5 separate regions of the Homo sapiens genome follow, and regions 1, 3, 4 and 5 are each linked to region 2. Evidence: promoter capture Hi-C in human tissues and cell types (Jung and others, 2019). All regions are on one chromosome and are shown on one strand. The core of a region is centred on a gene start or on the middle of the fragment in contact, and the rest is flanking DNA. Distances in the headings are between cores, read along the strand shown.

Evidence for each region. Contacts are between HindIII fragments. The study calls those that stand out against the background at their distance.
Region 1: a fragment that was not itself captured here is called in contact with the fragment with the promoter of PTK7 in region 2 in 2 of the 25 tissues and cell types used here (adrenal gland and aorta).
Region 3: a contact is called between a fragment that was not itself captured here and the fragment with the promoter of PTK7 in region 2, in 1 of the 25 tissues and cell types used here (H1 embryonic stem cells).
Region 4: a contact is called between a fragment that was not itself captured here and the fragment with the promoter of PTK7 in region 2, in 1 of the 25 tissues and cell types used here (aorta).
Region 5: a fragment that was not itself captured here is called in contact with the fragment with the promoter of PTK7 in region 2 in 2 of the 25 tissues and cell types used here (bladder and dorsolateral prefrontal cortex).

The regions. Positions count from the first base shown.
Region 1 is chr6:42,633,901-42,636,600 of GRCh38, reverse strand. It overlaps UBR2 (ubiquitin protein ligase E3 component n-recognin 2), which reads right to left. Exons shown (of 47, transcript NM_001363705.2): 14 at 1,055-1,183. Among named protein-coding and RNA genes, the nearest start is that of UBR2, 71 kb to the right of the region's middle. The HindIII fragment of the contact is 3,846 bases long and covers 1-2,700 here.
Region 2 is chr6:43,075,022-43,077,721 of GRCh38, reverse strand. PTK7 (protein tyrosine kinase 7 (inactive)) reads right to left here and starts at 1,408. Exons shown (of 20, transcript NM_002821.5): 1 at 1,155-1,408. The coding sequence starts at 1,233. KLC4 (kinesin light chain 4) reads right to left here. Exons shown (of 16, transcript NM_201521.3): 16 at 2,629-2,700. KLC4-AS1 (KLC4 antisense RNA 1) reads left to right here and starts at 1,492. Exons shown (of 2, transcript XR_002956347.1): 1 at 1,492-2,027; 2 at 2,455-2,700. RefSeq lists a silencer at 1,321-1,420 and an enhancer at 1,750-2,273. The HindIII fragment of the contact is 20,814 bases long and covers 1-2,700 here.
Region 3 is chr6:43,358,921-43,361,620 of GRCh38, reverse strand. All of the region lies in intron 2 of ZNF318 (zinc finger protein 318), which reads left to right. Among named protein-coding and RNA genes, the nearest start is that of ZNF318, 9.4 kb to the left of the region's middle. The HindIII fragment of the contact is 8,687 bases long and covers 1-2,700 here.
Region 4 is chr6:42,789,012-42,791,711 of GRCh38, reverse strand. The region is part of intron 1 of BICRAL (BICRA like chromatin remodeling complex associated protein); the gene reads right to left. It overlaps LOC401261 (a long non-coding RNA gene), which reads right to left. Exons shown (of 2, transcript NR_134654.1): 2 at 389-1,296. Among named protein-coding and RNA genes, the nearest start is that of BICRAL, 8.3 kb to the right of the region's middle. The HindIII fragment of the contact is 3,471 bases long and covers 1-2,700 here.
Region 5 is chr6:43,440,940-43,443,648 of GRCh38, reverse strand. ABCC10 (ATP binding cassette subfamily C member 10) reads right to left here. Exons shown (of 22, transcript NM_001198934.2): 9 at 1,689-1,787; 10 at 490-679. Among named protein-coding and RNA genes, the nearest start is that of MIR6780B, 7.8 kb to the right of the region's middle. The HindIII fragment of the contact is 4,033 bases long and covers 1-2,709 here.

The DNA.
Region 1 (2,700 bases), core at 80-2,579, 440 kb after region 2:
CATGTAAATTGAATCATGTCACTGTATGGAAAATGGATAAAGGGGGCAAGAGTTGAAGCAGGGAATTTAATAGAGAGATGGTAATCTCTAAAGGCTTCCCACTTCAATTCAAATAAAATGCAGGCTGAGTGTGGTGGCTCACGCTGGTAATTCCAAGACTTTGGGAGGCCGAGGCAAGCAGATCGCTTGAGCCCAGGAATTCAAGACCAGCCTGGGTAACACGGCGAAGCCCTGTCTCTACAAAAAATAGAAAAATTAGCCAGGTGTGGTGGTGTGTGCCTGTTGTCCCAGCTACTTGGGAGGCTGAGGTGGGAGGATCACCTAAGCCCAGGGAGGTTGAGGCTGCAGTGAGCCGGGATTGCACCACTGCACTCTGGCCTGGGCAACAGAGTAAGCTGTGTCTCAAAAAAAAAAAAAACAAAAAAAAAAACAACCATGGCCAAGGCCCCGAAAAATCACTCCTGTGCCCAAATCTCTGTTCTCTACTTCTGTGCTCCAACCACAGACCTTTCTATAGCTCCTAGGACTACCCTAGTCCCTGTCATCACAGACTATAATGCAGCTGTCTTCTCAGTCAGGAATATCATTTACTCATTGTTCCATTAACTTTTACAGATTGTTCAGACCTTACAGAAACCTCCCTAACCTCATAATGTATACAGGCTCTCATCTAGACTTTATCGCCAAAGGAAGGCCAAAATAATTTTAAGACACAGGACAAATGTACCAATAATAAAACTTTATTTTTGAATAAATTTAGAAACTACCATTTTTATATCCTCAAAGTCTAGAAGGGATTATGGAAAAAAAACAAAGATAGTTACATTAGGGAAGAGACAATCTGGATTATTTCTTTCTCTATTTTTCAAGTTTTTCCTCAGGCTGTAGAATTTTAAAATTTTACTGAGTTTATAGGTGGAGAAGGAAAATACGCTGTTTAATGAACTAAGTATCACCACTATTTTCTCCAGATCTCCTTGAAATTTACTTAGGATTCTGCTTATTCCTCCCTCTTCCACTTTCCTCCTATTCCCCGCACCCAGAAGAAACTCACATCTGAAGCACACCAGTCCTGCATCATTGAAATGACATGTGTTAATTTCATTTGTAGTGTGAAGGCTGCTTCCCACTCTGGTTCCATTTCAATATGTTGTCCTACTTGACGTGTAATTGGATCCATTCCCTTAACGGAAGTGAAAAAATTATATATGAATGAAAATAATAGTTGTTCTTTTATATGGAAACCTAAGAAGTAATGTAGGAGAAATATATATTGATTATAAAAACATAGAAGGTATAAGTTTTAACAGGAAACTTCAAGTACTATGAGAAATAATAGCTTTTAAAATTATGTGTTTATATAACATTCTCTAAAATATAAATTTAGAAATCCCAATAAACACATTATTTCAGAGGTATCATCTAAGATCTGTTTTAGGCAATAAAATACTTCAATATTTCACTGCAATAATCCTTCCTTTTTAGCTCTATGGTCTATAGAAAAAATTGTTAAAAGAAATGTGACAAGCTTTTAAAATGTTATTGAATTTATAACTGTATTTTATAATAAAGTTTTAATATTATGTCCTAATATGCAATTAGAAGTTTTCACAGAGCCTGAAAGAAGGCAAAACAATAAATAGCTTTTAATTAAAATTACTGTTCAGAAACTAGCCTAACTATTCTAGTATGTCAGAACTTATTAAACAATAGAGAATACAGAATACTTCAAGTATCAAAAATGACCAAAGTAGCTATTGTTTTCACAGATACATGAAAAACATAGTAGTATTATAATAAACACCCATGAACTACCACCCAACCTAGGAACTAGAATGGTAAGTCAGGCCAGACATGGTGGCCCACGCCTGTAATCCCAGCACTTTGGGAGGCCGAGGCGGGTGGATCACTTGAGGTCAGGAATTCAAGACCAGCCTGGCCAACATGGCGAAACCCTGTCTCTACTAACAATACAAAAATGAGCTAGGTGTGGTGGCGTGCACCTGTAATCCCAGCTACTCGGGAGGCTGAGGCAGAAGAATTGCTTGAACCTGGGAGGCAGAGGTTGCAGTGAGCCAAGATCGCGCCACTGCACTCCCGCCTGGGCGATAGAGCAAACCTCCACCTCCAAAATAAATAAATAAATAAAAATAAATTCAAACAAATAAAAATAAAAATGGTAAGTCAACTTTGGTCATTCCTTTTCTTAAGAAAGCCAGGTGGCTACTAAAGAAATCATAATAGTACTTGCTCAGATTTTTAGAGACGTCACCTATCTTCTTACAGTTATAACTGGTTAAATATACCTGTTCGTTTCTACTTCTAGATTCTGTTTTGTATATAGGGATGTTTCCTAAAAAGAGAATTAAACAGGGGAAAAAGGTCTACACTGTATTATATAAATACCACATGAAGGAGAGAAAAAGAAACATGGAAACATTAAAAAGCAAAATCAAAAACCACTACAGTTTCTCAAATAACTTGACTATACTTCCAAGAAAGCATATTAAAAAAATAAACTTGTAACCTCTAAAGAAAGAACATTAGTGGAAACCAAAGAAATATAAAAGTGGCTGGCGCAGTGGCTCATGCCTGTAATCCCAGCACATTGGGAGGCCGAGGTGGGCGGATCACTTGAGGTCAGCAGTTTGAAATCAGCCTGGACAACTTGGTGAAACCTCGTCTCTACTAAAAATACAA
Region 2 (2,700 bases), core at 159-2,658:
CAAAGGAGATGGAAGGTGATCACCTAGGACAGGTCTCCTCGACAGAGCTCCCCAAGAGAAAGCTGCTTCGAGGACCACCAAGGAGTGTTGTGGAGGGTCGGGGGCTTTATTTCCAGTCCGGGCTATTTGGGATGTGCGGGTGGCTTGGTGCTTTCCTGTAAGGCACTTCAACACCTCAGTGATGACTCTTAGGTGTGACCAAGCCAGGAAATAAAAGCTGCGGGAGTTGGGGGGGCGGTGCTGTCTGCCCTGGTGATGAGGGCCACACCCTCGTTAAAATGCTAAGGCCCCCCCCCAAGAAAAGCCAGAATGAGCTCTTTTTGCCTTTCTTCCCTTAGAAATACTTCCTTTCCTCTGTGAGGACAGTCAGGATGGAAATCCAGGAAGGAGCAGAACAAACCCCGTCCGCACCTTTGCAGCCAGGCCATGCCCGATTTTGGCAGCGGCCTTCACACATTAGTCACCGCGACAGCCTGGGACCCTCGGATCCCCGGATTCGGCCCTGGCACGGAGTGGGCGCAGGGTTCCAGACCAGTAGCTAGAGGCCATGGATGGGGGCGGCCCCTAACTCTTCCCTTCTTCCGCCCTCACCCGCAGGGCCATCTGGGGTCTCAGCTTTGCCCAGGAACTCGGAGGAGGGAAGCCGGGAACGTCGGGTCGGCGTAGGTAACAAAGCTCCGCGCTTTGCGCGCCGCAGGTCTGTCCGGCATCGGGCCCCAAACCAGCAACTCTTACCTGGGCCGACCCTGCCGGGTGGGGTGGGGAATTCCTTTTTCTCCATCGCGCTCCCCACGGTGGGTGCGGATGGTCTTTTCTCCCCCGACAAGAAACTCCCCATCTGGGCCCGAGAGCCAGCAACTCTCGGCAGTTCTCGAGCAAACTCTCGGCTCAGACCAGAAAAACTCAGGGAGGCTGGAAATGCGTCCCCGCGGCGCGAGTGGGAGGGGTACCCTGACCGCGTCCCTGGAGGCTTCGCCAGCCTCCCGACACCCGGGCTCCTTGCGCCCTTCCGCCGCAAGCCTGCACCCCCAGCGAGCCTCTCCACTACTCCAGGGCCGTTCCAGCCGCCCAAACCCACCGCCCCGGGCGCAGCCTTTTGCCCACGGGACTCCCGCGCTTCCCAAGCTCTGTGCCCCCAACTCTCGGGTACTCACCGCCCAGCAGCGGCAGCAGCAGGACGCTGAGCAGAGGCAACCGGCGGGGTCTGGCCGGGGATCCCCGCGCAGCTCCCATCGCGGCGGGCTCAGGAAAAGGAGCTGAGGGCGCACGGCGGGCGCGCAGACTGCGCTCCGCGGCGGGCACAGGAGGCGGAGCGCACCGGAGCGCGGGCGCCGCAGCAGCAGCCGCAGCCGGAGCCCGACCCCGAGGCGTCCCGAGGCGTCCCGAGCCGGAGCCGCGCGCGCCCAGTACCTCCGAGTCCCCGCGCGCCGCCGCCGCCGCCGCCAAGCCCCGCCCCACGACGCCCCCTCCCCTCCGGCCCCCGCACGGCGCCCCGCCCCCTCGACGCCCCCTCCTCGCCGAGGCGGGGAGGAGCTCAGTAGGGGGAGGGGTCTGGAGAGGGATGGAGAATAGAGAGAGCAAGGCTCAGGGAAGTGCAGGGGACCTGAGTATTTGCTGTACCCACCACCGACTCTGCAGGGATCCGGGAGAACCTAAGTGACTTGTGCGATTCCGTGGACCCTGGGGAGAATGGTCCATTCTGGGCATACCTGGAGGCTCTGGCCAACAGTTCCCCCAGAATTCTCCAGGTGGGGGCAGGGGAAGAGGCGGGCCCCGCCAACTCTTCAGCAACCCAAAATCTTAACGGCAGACCCAGAACAGCAGGGTGTCCTTAATGTCCCCAAGTAACCTGAAGATGCTGTGTAGCCCGGAGAGGGGCTGAAGTGTGCATGACTGGGGTCTGGTTTGGCTGTAGACCAATCTGAACCCAAAGGTAGAAACACGCTGGGCTCTGAAAGCCAGGCTGAAGTCTGCTAACTGACAAATTCATCCCAAGTCCATCTCCAGGCAGTCTGGGCTGTGTCAGGGTATGGCCAAGTCTCCAGCTGTGGGGAGGCCCAGCACAACCCTTGTTCCAGGCACCCCCACCCCCAGCGCCACCACCCCCACATTCTTTCTTTGTTGTGAAAGCAGCAAGGGGTGTAGGAGGCGGGTCAGGAGGAGTCAAGCTTTAGAAGATGGGCCCCAGCTGCTGCTCAGGCCTCCAAGATATGCTGAGAGGGGATGGATAGTGCCTTGTCTCCCCTCTGGTTCCGGAGGGCCCCCCAGGCCTGTTTAGACCTCCCTTCCCCCAAGCAGCTGGGAGGAGGAATGGCAGCCACAGAGGGCCTCACAGCCAGGAGAAGTGGCGCCAGGACTCCAGGGTCCTGCCACATGGCCACCACATGTCCCTGACAACCCAGTCCACAGCACCTTCTCCTTGGGTTGTGAGCCTCCTTCTTCCCCATCCCCCAGATGCCTTCCTACAGGCCCTGCTGGAGATGATACAAACAACGGGAGGAAGAGAGGAGAGATCCAAGAATCAACACTCCTCCTGCTGCTCCATCCATCACTGCCCCTCACCTTCTGTGAAGGGCCCCAACACAAGCCCTGCTTCATACCCTCTTCAATCAGGACTCAAGTCACAGAAAGGTTACCTGATTCTTTTATTTAAGAAAAGTGAAATACATGGACCTGAAGTGAGACAGCAGAGGGAGGGAG
Region 3 (2,700 bases), core at 174-2,673, 280 kb before region 2:
CATTTAATGTTCCATTCATGGAGCTATTTATTTAAAAAAAATTATTAACTTTTTAAAAGACAATGTCTTGCTCTGTTGCCCAGCCTGGAGTGCAGTGGCGTGATCATAGTTCACTGTAACCTCAAACTCCTGGGCTCAAGTGGTCCTCCCAGCTCAGTCTAAAGAGTAGCTAGGACTATGGGCTGCACTGCCACACCTGGTGAATTAAAAAATAAATTTTTAGAAATTGGGTTTCTATCTATCTGTGTTGTCCAGGCTAGTCTCCTGACCCCAAGCAATCCTTCTGCCCTGGCCTCTCCAAGTGCTAAGATTACAGGTGTGAGCCATTGTGCCCAGCTTATCGCCTAATTTCTTCTCCTTATTCTGACAGATTGAAGGAGTGGGATTTTTTTCCCTCTGATTTTCTTTAGGGAATAGAAGCAAACAGCTTTCTTGGGGCATTTTTGGGACTCATCAACAGAAAAGAATGGAGAGTTTAGGCTCTGAAGGACCTTTTAAAATATGTATACATTTTTAACAGCTTTATCGAGATGTAATTTGTATACTATATAATTCACCCATTTGAAGTGTACAGTTCAGTGATTTTTCGCATATTCAGAGTTGTGCATCCCTCACTACAATCAATTTTAGAACATTTTTATTACACCAGAAAGAAGCTCTGTTCCTTTAGCCATTACTCCCTCCACCCTACCCCCAGCCATAGGCAATCACTAATCTACTTTCTGTCTCTATAGATTTGCCCGTTCTGGACATTTCATATAAATAGAATCATATAATATGTGGTCTTTTGTGACTGGCTTCTTTCACTTAGCATATTTTTTTTTAAGGTTCATCCGTGTTTGTAGCATTCCTTTTTATTGCTGATAATATTTTATTGTATGGATATACCATGTTTTGTTTATCCATTCATCAGTGGTGAATGAATGGATAACATTTTGATTCTTTTCACTTTTTGGCAATTATGATTAATGCTGCTCTGAACATTGGTATAAAAGTTTTTATATGGACATACATACATTTTTTAAAAACTTGTTTAACAGAGATTTGTAAACACAAAAATGTAGAATAGTACAGTGAAACCCCATGTCCTTATTACCTAACTCCAACAATCAGTTTTTTTAAATAGATAGACTTTATTTTAGAAAACAGTTGAACTTAACCAAGGCTTTCCGGGAGTATCCATCGCTGGACTCTTTCAGGGTATAGGAGATTGTACCCTTTTTAGGGTTCTTACTACAGCCAGTTCTCTTCTCATATCCTTTTGGAGTCCTGGGGAAGGAGGACATGAGCTTCTAATAAGCAACCTGATTTCTGCCTATATGTATGTGATAGCTTTTTTAAGAAAACTGTTTTTATGCCTTTTTTCTGTCTCTACTGGAGATTCCAAGTCTGGACTACAGCTTTTTGAGAGCCATCTCATTTGTAGCTTCTTGATAGTTAGTACTGGTTTAGACCTTGGGCTAGTATGCCGTTTCATGGTGACATGTAATAGTTCTGGTGGGGAGCTGAATGTGGGAGTGTGAATGAACTTGCCACTCCTCATGGAGCCTATGTTTTTTCTCCCTATACTAATATGGTCAGAGACTTTTTGTATGGTAGATGGTGTTTTGGCAATGGAGTGACTCAACTCATGAACATTCCTCTCTGGAAATAGGTGTGTTTATGGCTGACAGACCTATAGAGAAAAATTTTTACCTCAGTTTGATTTCAGAAATCATCCTTGGTTTATTCCCATTTATTCCTATTTCATACTGCATTGAAACCTCAAAATTTCCCAAATTCTTAGGAAGAAGGTGGGTAACAGAAACCTGGATTCCCACAGGTGGCATTCTTGTTAGAGAAGGTAAATAAAGTTTGTCCTTGATAACCTTTCATAAATTTATTCCTAGGTCTACAACTTTGATCAAAGGCAGGCTGGTGAATAAGAAAAGGCAATGTTTTGAGATTCTGCTGGCATAGTCTCAGAGATAGGAAAGCAACTACTAAAAAAACTAAGGAAAAGTCATTTCTAGAAACTCACAACAAAAGTAGCTACTAGAAACTGTAGAAGACACTAATAGTTACCATCCTCTAGATGATAATTCACTCTGGAATGTGAGTGACATGTAAGAACTTTTATTTTTTATTCAGAGTACTTAGAAGTTTTCATACATAAAGTGCTAGAGGATCTTTATTTCTATCTGTGATTTAAATCAGAAACTTTAGTTTTGTGTCATAGCCATAGCCCCTGAGAAGGTTAGCATTATTGGGTGTGGTATAGAATTCTCAGCTAAAAGAATAGCTGTCCCATCCTGGATTTTTACCTCATGCCACAAAGGTCTGAGACCTTTGTATTTAATGAAATAAAAATATATGGTGAACCAAACCATCACTTTCTCTTTTCTAAGCCCAAGATTAGCAGAGTGCTTGTAGATATCCAGAGAAGGCAAAGAGGGTGACAAAACAGGCTGTGAGAGAGCTTTATGGGTTTTAATATGTGAACCATCAAGGCAAAGCATTGGAGAACCTTCTAAATCTTATGAGAAAATCATGCTAATTAGATAAATCAGTAGTTTTTTTAAAAGTTACCATATAGTGATACTTTTTTTTCCCAATTGAATTATTAGAACCTTAATATACAGACTTAAAGTTGGAATTAGTGTGATTTAACTGGGATAGAAGGTCAAGAGCCCTGCTGGTTCTGCTTTTCTAGTACCTCCT
Region 4 (2,700 bases), core at 49-2,548, 290 kb after region 2:
TGAGAAGACCGCTTGAGCCCAGGAGTTTGAGACACGCCTGTGCAACATAGTGAGTTCTCATCTCAAAAAACAAAAACAAAAACCAAACCCATTAGAACCCATCAGGGTCTCAAACAAGGTGAAGGTTTAACAAATATTATTTCTTTTCCCCCTCATTTTCTTCCCTGTGAAAATGTTTCCATTTCAGGCCAGGACACAAAGTTCAACTCCTAATGAAAAAAAGTGTCCTGGATTTGGGTTCAACTGAAATAAACCATTTCTAGAAAGGCAATATCTTTCATATCTTATTCTCTCACATTCTCAGACTCAGGGCTTTAATTTTAAGTAATGTTAAGTGTTTAATGTGTTTGCAAGATAAGAGAGCCAAATAACCCACAAAAACAGAACATGTTCGGTTTCACAACTTTATTAAAAATAAATTTATAAGTAAACAAATCGTAACTTTATAGATTAAAGTTGATTGGGATTAAGGAGAACCTGGGTATAAGAGGATCTGGTACAGAGAGGTCTCAGGATCTTTTCCTGAGTGGGAGTACATACGAGGTAGGGAAGAGAAAACAACAAACCAGAACAAAGTTGCTGCTCCCAGGTCCTCTTTCATCCTCCACCTTCCCACACAGCATTCTGACAGCCCCTGAGCTCTCCTCAACTGCACTACAAAAGGGCAGGCCACCCCCAGCACAGTCAAGTCCTGAGCTCCCTCTGCTTGTAGCCAGGCACCATGTTAGTGATTTCCACCTCAGGGCTTTCCTTTTAAAATCCACACCCCACATGCCTTTGCAGTCAGCTCTCTCACCTCTCCATACTCATTTCACTCTTCCCCAACTCCCCCAGCCCACCTTCTGCCAGCTCCTTCACTCACTGTATTTTCCTCTTCTACTATACAGAACATTATTCATCAAGCAAGAGCCATGCCATGCAGAAACGCATCTGGTATGCTACTTAAATCATGCCGTTTCACCCGTTTTTCCCCAGATTTGCTCCTCTCACCTTTAACTCAAAGCTATCTTTCTCAGTGAAGAATGTAGACAGCTATTTTGAATTCCATCATCTACTCCATTCTTATTTTCTCTAATCTCACTTTACGGTTATTGTTTAGCCTATTTGGGGAGCAGAGAAAACTCATGAAAAAGGGAATGACAGCAGACTCAAAGAGGAAAGAAAGGGGAAAAGAAGGTGGGGGGGGGGTGCTACATACTTCCATTTGACATTATTTAAATAAAAAATGATTTTCTCGGCAGGATGCAGTGGCTCACGCCTGTAATCCCAGCACTTTGGGAGGGAAAGGTGGGAAGACTGCTTGAGCCCAGGAGTTTGAGGCCAGCCTGGGTGACAAAGAGAAACCCCTGTCTCTACAAAAAAAAAAAAAAAAAAAAAAAAATTAAATTATCTGGGCATGGTGTTGCATTTCTATAGTCCCAGCTACTTGGGAGGCTGAGGTTGGGGGAATCCCTTGATCCCAGGAGGTCCAGGCTGCAGTGAGCTACAATTGTACCACTGCACTCCAGGCTGGGTAACAGTGAGAACCTGTCTCAAAAACAAACAAAAAATGAAACTCAATGCTTATTTCTCTCCTTCCCTGTTCTGTAATCAGACTTTTTTTCTCATCACGTGCACAGATCAGAATGTCAAATGCTATAAGCCGCCACACATTCAATGGTCTTGATTCTTTTTCTCACAGATCCCTCTACTAGTGTAAGATATTGCTGATCTCTAACAGAATACTGTTTTCCTTTTGATTCCCATCATTCTACTCTACCTAGGTTCTCCAAGTACTGAGTCAGCAAATGTTTACTGAGTGCTCAACTTGTTTTGAATGCTGTGCTAAAGGCTTAGAACAAAACAGTAAACATGGGAGCAAATAATGTAATATTCCCAGGTCCTATACTACAATCTCTACGTCTATAGGTGACTTATGCACCCTCAAGCTTGGTACCATGATAAGAAGAGATACTTTCTCTTTAGTTTCAGTAATCTGAAATTTCATTTCTAAAGCAATTTTCTTCCATATGCAAATAACACCTCTATCTGCCACAAATATTTAAGTGTTCATTCTTTTTTTTTTTTTTTTTGAGACAGTCTAGCTATGTCACCCAGGCTGGAGTGCAGTGGGAAGATCTCAGCTCACTCCAATGTCTGCCTTCCAGGTTCAAGCAATTCTCATGCCTCAGCCTCCTGAGTAGCTGGGATTACAGGTGTGTGCCACCATGCCTGGCTATTTTCTTTGTATTTTTAGTAGAGATGAGTTTTGCCATGTTGGCCAGGCTGGTTTTGAACTCCTGGCCTCAAACGATTTGCCTGCCTCAGCCTCCCAAAGTGCTGGGATTGTAGGTGTGAGCCATGGGCCCAGCCTAATTCATTTTTTACTATGGTAAAATATATGTAAGATTTACAATTTTAACCATTTTTTTCCAGGATTGGGAAAACCCTTTATTTCTCTATAGAGTTACTGAATTTTAAATATTTAAAAGTGTTTGGTTGAGTGGCATTACATACATTCACATTGCTGTGAAACCAAGAGCCCTATCCAGCTTTAGAAATTTTTCATCTTCCCAAACTGAAACTCTGCGCCCATTAACTCACTTTAAGCCAGTAATGATTTTCATGGCCCCCACTCTGATTCTTCTCTTGCTTTCCTACTCAGCTAACATTTCAAGGTTCATCATCAAAATCACCCCCTTGCAACTACTCTCAAGCCTC
Region 5 (2,709 bases), core at 210-2,709, 370 kb before region 2:
ATGCCTGCCACTCTGTCCAGGGTTACTTCTCATTACTGCAGAGCTTTTTCTCATGCTTCGCTCAATTCCTAATATCTGGCTGGAGCTTCATTTCCTCCTATTTCTCTCCCAGTAAACTTGCAGGTGGTCACATCCCTCTGCATAAAAATCTTTCAGAGTTTAAAAATTTTTGTTTTTACAAAAAGACCATTCTAAACCTGACTCCTTTCTCTTCTCTGAAGATATGAGAATGTTCTCAGAGACCCTGGGCCTTTAAGTTCCCAAGAGCACCCAGTCACAAAGCCCATGAGTCCCAAATACACTGGCATTTTACCAACGTACTCCTTTTCCCTCCTGTTCTCCCAGTTCCTCACACCAGTTCTGTGAAGGCGGGAGGCAGCAATGACTGGCTCAGGGCACACATGCAGCAGGGGGCAGAGTCTGTACTTCACAATCCCCTGCCAGACCTGGGCAGACACCTCCCTCACACGGGGCTCCTGCCCCCATTACCAGCCCGGATGAGGCGCCCGGCCTCCATCAGCAGCACCGCGTCAGCCCTCTCCAGGTACTCAGTGCGGTGGGTGCAGAGCAGCCGTGTGGTGTAGCTCAGCATGCCCAGGATGCACCTGTGCAGCAGGTGGTTGGCCACATCTGCATCCACAGCGGCCAGAGGGTCATCGAGGAGATAGAGCTCCTTTTCCTATGGAGACGTGAGGGTACCGTGGGCACCAGGACCCAAAGGCTCTCCGGAGAAGATCTCAAAGTGATCAGAGAAGACAGTTGAGAGAAACTCTGGGGGCTACCCCTACACTAGCAGAGAAGGAGGTGAGACCTGAGGGTGGACATCCCTTCAGGCAAGAAAGAACAGCACCCCAGGGCCAGCACTCAGCTTTCCTAGGTCCCAGGCCCTCAGCCCATATAACACTTTTTTTTTTTTTTGAGACATGGTCTTGCTCTGTTGCCCAGGCTGGAGTGCAGTGGCATGAACACCACTCACTGCAGCCTCAATTTCCCAGGCTCAAGTGATCCTTCCCACCTCAGCCTCCTGAGTAGCTGGGACTACAGGTGCATGCTATCAAGCCCAGCTAAATTTTTTTGGAGACAGGGTTTCATTCTCATCACCCAGGCTGGAGTGCAATGGTGTGATCTTGGCTCACTGCAACCTCTGCCTCTCGGGTTCAAGCGATTCTCCTGCCTCAGCCTCCCGAGTAGCTGGAATTACAGGCATGTGCCACTATGCCCAGCTAATTTTTGTATGTTTTTCAGTAGCGATGGGGTTTCACCATGTTGGCCCAGCTGGTCTCGAACTCCTGACCTCAAGTGATCCACCCTCCTCGGCCTCTCAAAGTGCTAGGATTACACCAACTAACTTTTTAAAATTATTTTTTGTAGAGACAGGGTTTTGCCACATTGCCCAGGCTGATCTTAAACTCCTGGGCCCAAGCAATCCTCCTGCCTTGGCCTCCCAAAGTGCTGGGATTACAGACCTAAGCCACCATGCCCAGCCTACAAATACTTTTTAAAGGCCTTGAACTCTGCCTTAAATCTGCAAAAGGGGATGAGATGGCCAATACCTCAGGAACATGCAAGGGAGGAGGGAAGGAACCAGATGCTAAGGAAAATATTCCTATCCTCCTAACTCAGCCAAGTTCCCAAGGCTCTGGACTCCCCCCACCTCCCTGCCACTGCAACCTCCATCTTTAACTGACCTGGTAGACAGCACGAGCAAGGGCAATCCGGGCACGCTGTCCTCCGCTAAGGGTGACACCCTTCTCCCCCACCTCTGTCTGGTCTCCAGCAGGCAGGATCTGATGGAACAGGTGCCCCAGTGGGTCAGGGAGCTCCCATTACCTTCTGGCCCACTTCCTATCCCTTTGCAGGAGATAGTGGGAGTCAAGAGAAGTAGGGAGCTTGAGGAGAGTAGACTTAAATTTGGGGTGAGCTAGTCAGAGGAGACAAGACATAATTCCAATAACATCAAGCACTTATTGAACACTATGTGCCTAGCACTTTACAGGCATTCTCTCATTCAAGCCCCAATGTAATCTTATGAAGATGGTATCATTTCCTTTTCTCAGGTGCAACCAAAGCTCAGACAGATTAACTAGCTGGCCCACAGCTAGTAAGGGGCAGGACACAAGTTCAGATTCAGATTCTTAACTACTTTGTTACATTTACTACCCTTTTTTTTTTTTGAGACGGAGTCTCGCTCTGTCGCCAGGCTGGAGTGCAGTGGCACAATCTCAGCTCACTGAAACCTCCACCTCCTGGGTTCAAGCGATTTTCCTGCCTCAGCCTCTCGAGTAGCTGGGACTACAGGCGTGTGCCACCATGCCCAGCTAATTTTTGCATTTTTAGTAGAGACGGGGTTTCACCATGTTAGCCAGGATGGTCTCGATCTCCTGACCTTGTGATCCACCCACCTTGGCCTCCCAAAGTGCTGGGATTATAGGCGTGAGCCACCGTGCCTGGCCTATTACCCTGTCTTTTTAACAGGCAAGGTAGTAAGGTATCTTGGGCAGATTTGATGTAAAAGCTTTTATAGGTTTTTACTTTTTTGTGTGTGTGAGACAGAGTCTTGCTCTGTCGCCCAGGCTGGAGTGCAGTGGCATGATCTCAGCTCACTGCAACCTCCGCCTCTCGGGTTCATGCAATTCTCCTGCCTCAGCCTCCAGAGTAGCTAGGACTACAGGTGTGAGCCATGACACCCAGCTAATTTTTGTTTTTTTT